2 separate regions of the Homo sapiens genome follow, and region 1 is linked to region 2. The links are contacts of gene promoters, found by promoter capture Hi-C in blood cells and fetal thymus (Javierre and others, 2016). All regions are on one chromosome and are shown on one strand. The core of a region is centred on a gene start or on the middle of the fragment in contact, and the rest is flanking DNA. Distances in the headings are between cores, read along the strand shown. Region 1 has its middle 83 kb from the start of PLCXD2-AS1. Region 2 holds the start of ABHD10 (abhydrolase domain containing 10, depalmitoylase).

What was found. The method cuts DNA at HindIII sites, captures the fragments that hold promoters and counts their contacts. A CHiCAGO score of 5 or more calls a contact.
Region 1: a contact is called between a fragment that was not itself captured here and the fragment with the promoter of ABHD10 in region 2, in 3 of 17 cell types (endothelial precursors, M1 macrophages and M0 macrophages). The highest score is 6.7, in endothelial precursors.

What each region holds. Positions count from the first base shown.
Region 1 is chr3:111,758,635-111,762,641 of GRCh38, reverse strand. It overlaps a transcript of PHLDB2 not described here. Among named protein-coding and RNA genes, the nearest start is that of PLCXD2-AS1, 83 kb to the right of the region's middle. The HindIII fragment of the contact is 3,296 bases long and covers 368-3,663 here.
Region 2 is chr3:111,976,708-111,980,335 of GRCh38, reverse strand. It overlaps ABHD10 (abhydrolase domain containing 10, depalmitoylase), which reads right to left and starts at 1,310. Exons shown (of 5, transcript NM_018394.4): 1 at 1,133-1,310. The coding sequence starts at 1,274. RefSeq lists enhancers at 1,071-1,120, 1,141-1,190, 1,201-1,250, 1,109-1,668. The HindIII fragment of the contact is 3,690 bases long and covers 6-3,628 here.

The DNA of each region.
Region 1 (4,007 bases), core at 766-3,265, 220 kb after region 2:
TTGAAGAAATAATACCTCCTCCTTTAATCCTGACGAGTGTGGCCAGGTTCTTGGGAGGGCTGGGTGGAAGGTCTGGATCAGATCACACTTAGAGGCCTGTGATTAGAATGATGATAATTGTGGCATCACAAGGCATAACTTCAGAGCGCTCCCTAGGATGCCCTTGGGCAAGGTACTTAACCCTTCTGTGCCTTAGTTTCCAATATCTGAAAATGGGATAAACACCTCAAAATTTATTGACAGTGTCAAAACATTACACATATTGGCTATATAATAATAATATGGTAATGCTAGTTATATAATTAAATAATACATATAGTTAGCATTTATTGAGGCCTTACTATACATGAGCTATTGTGTTAAAGCTTCCTAAACATTATCTTCTTTAAACTTCACAACAGTCCTCTGAGATCAATTGTGTTATCCTTCCAGTACTGCAGTTTAGAAAAGTAAGTGACTGACTTAAGTTTATCACCTTAGGTAGTAGACTTGGATCTCAAATCTAAGTCTAGTCTGGCACCAAAACCCATGCAATGAACTAATAGCTAAGACGCTGGTCTGGTTCTCAGCTGAATGTGGCGGATGGGATTGGGGGGGCATCCCTTTTTGGATAAAATGTGTTCCTCTGACCCCTCATCCTCTCTTTTAGCAGTGCCCCTTTTAGGTGAACATACAAGCACCTATTTTAAGGAAATGTCAGGCTGGGGGTAATTACTCTGTAATTCTTCTTATGTATACACATTAAATAAATTTGTATGCTTTTTCTGCTATTAAAAAAAAATGTTGGGCTGGTTTTCCAGGTAAATAAACCAGTCATGGCCTCTGTGGCTCAATTCTGAAACCGGTATTGCCTAAAGCAGTGGGTCTTATGGTGTGGTATCCCCGACCAGCATCACCTGGGAACTTGTTAGAGCTAAAAATTCTCTTGCCCCACCCACATGTACTGAATCAGAAATTCTGGGTGTGTAGATCAGCAATCCTGTTTTAACAAGCCCTTGAAGTGATCTGAATGCAGCTGAAGTTTGAGAACGACTGGCCTCTGGGGTAGATAAAGCAGAGAGTTAAATCAGGAATAGAGATCTAACTATGATTCTTAACAGCTGCTAGTGACTCATTCTCCCTAGTCATTCTCTTCTGAGTTTCTGCCTTTTTAGGATGAAGGATTTGTTCACGTCCCATCTTGTGTGATAAATTTCATCAACAGTGTCAGTTCCTTTCTGAATCAATGCCGTGTATAAGGAGACTTTGAGCTTTATACACTCCCATGTGTACCCATACCCACTTCTGCTTTTGGAACCACTTGCTCATTTCCCATTGTGGATGATTAGCTTCAAATTATCTTCATGACAGAAGCAAAAAAATTGAATAACACTGTAGTTCTAGGTGGAATAGGAGGATCACAAAGCTGGGATTAGTATTCAAATGTGTTTAGTTTTTTTTTTCTTTTTTTTTTTTTTTGAGATGGAGTCTCACTCTGTCGCTAGGCTGGGGTGCAGTGGTGCCACCTTAGCTCACTGCAACCTCCACCTCCGGGGTTCAGGTGATTCTCCTTCCTCAGCCTCCCTAGTAGCTGGGACTACAAGCACGCACCACCACGCGCAGATAATTTTTGTATTTTTAGTAGAGACGGGGTTTCACCATGTTGGCCAGGATGGTCTCAATCACCTGACCTCGTGATCCACCCGCCTCGGCCTCCCATAGTGCTGGGATTACAGGCGTGAGCCACCACACCTGGCCGACTTAGTTCTAAAGGTTCCAAGCAGTGCTATGAATGAACTAAGTAGCATCCTGGCCCCTCTCCCAAACTTCTCACCTACAATTTATCACAAAAGATAAAACAACTAAAACTGAAAATGGAGAAAATTATTGCTTCAGTTTTTTAATCTAAGCTCTGATTCAAATTTTGCTTCTCAGCCTCACCAGTCCCACGTGGCTCTCAGGAAAAAAAAAACAAACAAAAAACTGTATACACATCGCAGAAGCAAGAAAACAGAACACGTTTTCTGCCTTCTAGTTCACTCCCCAGAAGCCAGAGTAAGATGAGTCCCGCAGTCCAACACAAACCTTTTAATAACCATGTAAACATAAATTTCAATAAAAAGAACTCCAACTTTGCTAGTTTGTTACAAAAGCCTAGTTTTTTATCTGAAATGCTGCTTTTCCTAATTGAAAAATAGTAGAAAATTTTATTTGACTTTGACAGAAAATGGAAGCTATGGTTATTGATGAGACCTGTATTTAGTATCTTTGGAGTAGGACAATTTTTTTTATCTCAACAAAGATGCATTGAAACTAAGTTTTGGTTTGAGGGATCTTTGGATTCCATCTTACAGTCCACGTAAGGTAAAATAGGAATTTTAAAAATGTAAACATGGTTTCTGCTGATGGACAATGTTTGTGAATTTCAAAAGAGTTTTGCTCAGCACTTTATATTGCTCTCTGGTCTTAACTTTAATTCATTGTGGACATACTGAAAGAATATCAGTCAGGAATATGGGTTAGCAACATGCACATGAAGGCAAGAAGTATTATGTGCATTAAACTCTGACCTAGTGGAAGTGAAGATTGCCTAGCAATGTCTCCCCTGAAATGCTTTTGCATAAGTATTGTGGCTACAGCCTGAATCCAATACAGAGGCATGAAGACACAGAAACTTCACATGGCTTTCTCTGTTTGACAGATACATTTAGATCTCTGCCCTTAAAGCCTCTTGTCCTACAAACTGCATATTGTTGCTATTATGAACCAACAATATTCCCAACGAACTCTTGATTGTCACCCAATTATAGCCTATTGATTAAGAATAAAAAATTTGGAAAGAGAGAAACTCAAATCCAAAATCTGACGTCATCTCTTGTAAGCTGTGTGCCCTTAGACAAATTACTTAATCTGAGATTTGTTTGCTCACTTATAAATTGGGGATAAAAATTTCCACCTTATAGGGTTGCATGATGACTGATTTGGATAATGTCCAATTACCTGGCCTTTAGTAGGTGTTATATTATTTTGCTGTCTTGAAACCATTTGGTGCAAAGAGTAACTTTACATGCTAAACATATATTCCTCACTGTGCATGCATACACACACACGGGATATACATACATACATATGTGTGTGTGTATATATACATGTAAATATATATAAAATCTCAATGTTGTGGTCTAAATGTTGGTGTCTCCTCAAAATTCATAAATTGAAACCTAATCACCAATGTGACAGCATTAGGAGAAGGAGCCTTTGGGTAAGGCTGAAACTCTCATGAATAGGATTGGTACCCTTACAAAAGAAACCCCAGAGAGCTAGTTTGTCCTTCCACCATGTGAGGACACAGTGAGAAGGCACCATCTACGAACCAGAAAGTGGATCCCCACTTGATACCAAATCTGCTGGTGTCTTAATTGTGGCCTTTCCAGCCTCCAGAATGGTGAGAAATAAGTTTCTGTTGTTCATAAGCTACCTAGTTTATGGTATTTTGTTACAACAGCCTGAGTGGACTAAGACAATCATTGAAAAAAAAAAAAGATATATCACTAGGATATTTATGCACATATATAATTACATTTTTACTCTAATCAGCTCTGAAGAGCAGTCATTTTTCTCCTTTCTTCCTTAAAATATCACAGTAAACTCTACTGACTGACTCCTAGTTTCTGGGATGAAGCTTATAGGCTAAAGATGGCCTGGGCCCCATATTGATAGGACCCATTAGCAAAACATAGCTTGTTGTCTCTGTCTGTGCCGCATCTAGTAGCTTATAAAACCATCTTCATGAGTTTATCGTGGTTGATGACTCACCCCTCCCATGGCTGCAATCCTATGAAACATGTCAAGCCATGGGTTCTTCAAGCTATATTAACAGCAAAATAGATGCACTTGAAATTTTTTTGTGGTCGAGCCAAGATGGCCGAATAGGAACAGCTCCAGTCTGCAGCTCCCAGCGTGAGCCACACAGAAGATGGGTGATTTCTGCATTTCCATCTGAGGTACCGGGTTCATCTCACTAGGGA
Region 2 (3,628 bases), core at 61-2,560:
AAGCTTGTTTCAAAGTATAGAGAAATATGCCAAATTTAAAACTTTTGGTAAGGACCAGTTATGCTGATCCACTCATGTTCATTTCCCATCTACTCAGCTGAGCACTAAAAAAAATTCTCACTATCCTCTTCCAGAAATCACCTCTTAAAACATAATTTCCCCGAGATGATTATAATTTATTTAATGTAAGTTCTAAGTAGACAGATTCATATAATTATATTCATAAATCATCTTTGAACATAAGGATTAATTCAAAGCCTGGTGCATAAGTGCTCAATGAATAAGTGCTAACTAGATGAAATAATATTATACTCTGGTTAATGAATTGACATACTACATTTTACTAGGAGTATTTGCATGTGTAACATGCCTTTTGGTTGCGCACAATTAAATGCAAGTTAATCTGATTATAAAAGTTTAAAAACTGGATACAAAAATCTCCATACAAAAGATCTCTGCCGTGACATTAATTACCACTCCAAGCACCATGCATCATCTGACAGCTACGTGGCAATGGTGTGAACCACACACAAAGCCAAAAAAATAAAAGGATCTAATTCAAAGACTATATATACATATAAGAGGTTCTCTGATTTTTAGCCCAAATTCTAGTTTCCTTTGTGCAATAATGATTATGGTTCTTTCACTGAGTGGGTGCAGCAAGAAAGCAGAACTAGAAATTAGGCTTATGAGGGCGTCTACACTTTTACAAAGAACATGCCTCGCATTGTTAGGTTCCCTAAACTCAAAGGAGAGTCAGTCTAAGCATTTTAGGAGTCACAATCTACAAATTCCTAGAAGTAACTAATAATAATGCATTAAATGCACATTTTAATTTTTTCTAGTGTTGGCCTTTAATGCAGGGGAGGCAGGTAAGGAGCAGGAGCTCTTTAAACTGCACAGTGTAAAACGCCAGCGAGGGCCCGGGGTGCCCAGAATGCCGCAGGGCCGCGGCAGAGCTCTCCTCACAGCCTTCACCAGAAGTCTACAAAGCGCCTAGAACTGGGGTGTTGAGAAAGGGGGAGGAGCATTTTTGAACCGGGCGCCAAAGACGCACTGCACAGGCACGGTAACTGACGGAACCCGAGGCGTTCGAAAGAACGCATCCTACTCCCGCCTTTCGGACACTGACCTGGGAGCCACCGTGGCGCCCGCTGAGGTATCCGTGCAAGCAGCACGCTGAGGCCACGGTGGGGACCGAAGGGGACGGCTGCCCAGCCCCAGCTCCGACAAGGTACCCAGGCCGCCACAGCTGCCAAGCGCGCAACCGCCATCTTCGTAGTTGTCCCCGCACCCTGCAGTGTCCCACTGAGGGACACGCTACGCAACGGAACCGAGGCTGCGCATGCGCTTCAGGCTGGAAGGCGGAACTTGCTAAAGAGCTCCCCGCAAGATTTTCAGCTTGCGAAGAGCGCACATGCGCAGAGCGTCGTGGCTCTTTCGTTTAGACTGTTGGTTCTACTAGTAGCGGGGTTTGGCTTGGGGCCTTTAAGATGTTTTGAGTGGCGTCGGGAGGCTGCCCTATCAGCGGGCTGATAGATACTACAGAGCTGGAAGCTCAGAAAGGAACCCTATCCAACGGTCCTAGATGGGAAACGTCTCCTGTCGAGGACACCAGGCTTGCTGCATCACCTGCAATCCCGCCGACCGCGTGACAGTTTTAACCTGTACTGGAAATGCTCCCAAGATCTGACATTAATCTCGCCTGTATAACCTGGAATGGTATCGGACATTCCCCGCTCTAGATCTATATGCCTGATTAACGAAATACTGAATTATCTTGGCCCCCTCCTCGTGCTATATGCGAAAATAAATTTCAGTAAAAAAAGATTTCAACGGAAGAATACAACTGAGAGGATTAAATAAATTTTAGGAGAATATTATATAATCCGGGGACAGAAGGGACTTTCTTAACCAAGATTTCAAAACCCCAACATCATAAATAAAAAATATATTTGTATACGAATTTAAACTTTTTGAATGGCAAAAGACACCTCAAGTTAAGAGCTTAGAAAAATGGATTTTGTAGCATAGATACATTAATACTTCTACTCAGCCTGCTCCTATAAATAAGAAATATAATTCAAATAAAATTGGCCAACAGCTATAAATAGGCAGCCCATATAAGGAAACATGATGCTCAAACTCACTAAATGAAAAACTGGAATTAAAAAAATAATGCCTTTTTCCCCCCATTCAGTTGGCAAAAAAGAAAAATAATTGGCAAGGATGCTAGACACTAGCACTTATGTATGATTGCTAGGAAGGTGAATTACTAAAATTTGTTGTGAAGTAATATGGCCACATCTATTACAATTTTAAAATATGCATCCATTCCAGTGCCTTTTAACGCAGTGGCACCAATTTGTGATTATCCTATAGAAAAACAACACTAGTTCTTAAGACTGCATATTATCTACTACACCGTTTTTAGAGGCAAAGAGAAGGAAAAAAATGGGAATGGCTAACAATAGAAAAATAGTTGAATAAATTGTAGTACAAGGGTTTCCGGACTCCAGCTCTAAATACCTTTCAAACTAATTCCTGGGGGCCTCAAGCATCAACCATGGAGTTTTACGTAGTAGTTTCCTATTTAAAAGTTATGGTGGCTTGTGTAATACTTTGAGTATATATAAGATAGTAAAGTAACTTTTATTATCCTGGTTATAAATTTGGGGGGCAGTAATTGGTACCAGAATTAAAGGCAAAGTTTGGATATAGTGAATCCAGCATGTCTTTGGAGTCGTGAGAACCTGGACTGTTGGAACAGTCTGGAACAGTTAGATAAATAAAGACTGAATAGATCTCTTTCTTGAGAGGTGGGATGCCTCTCTCTACTAAGGACATATAGTTAAGGACAGCAACTTGATTTCAGGACATACTCCAAAAGATGCTGAGCTATGTTGCCCGTTCTCCATTAGACCTGTTGTAGACTCTAAGGGACTAAATCACTAAGGTGATGCCTGATGCATGTCATTTCATCATCCCTTATATTTCTTTTTTGGGTTTTTGTGTGTGTGTGTGTGTATGTTTTAGACTGAGTCTCGCTCTTGTCACCCAGCCTGGAGTGCAATGGGGCGATCTCAGCTCACTGCAACCTCCACCTCCTGGGTTCAAGCGATTCTCCTGCTTCAGCCTCCTGAATAGCTGGGATTACAGGCACCGACCACCATGCCTGGTTAATTTTTGTATTTTTAGTAGAGATGGGGTTTCACCATGTTGGCCAGGCTGGTCTCGAACTCCTGACTGCAGGTGATCCACCCCCCTTGGCTTCCCAAAGTGCTGGAATTACAGGTGTGAGCCACCGCACCTGGCCCATCCCTTATATCTTAACAAACACTTCTCTCTGCATGTTTTGGATAATTGCAAATATTCTCAATCACTTCTCTCCCTTTTCTTCCCCTTTATTTTTGCAAGTCTTCTTGCATTTTACTTGCAGTAAGATGAAAAATCTGACTGGTCATAGTGGGAAAATCACTGCACAGAAAAGCAGAGAAACCCATGGATTGTTTTCTGTATTCACTCTTGTTGTCTAACAAATTAGAAAAAATTATGGCCAGTAGCAAGTACAGATGCTTTTACGGACAGTGATGAGCTTGAAGTAGACAAATTTGTTTCCACTCTGGGT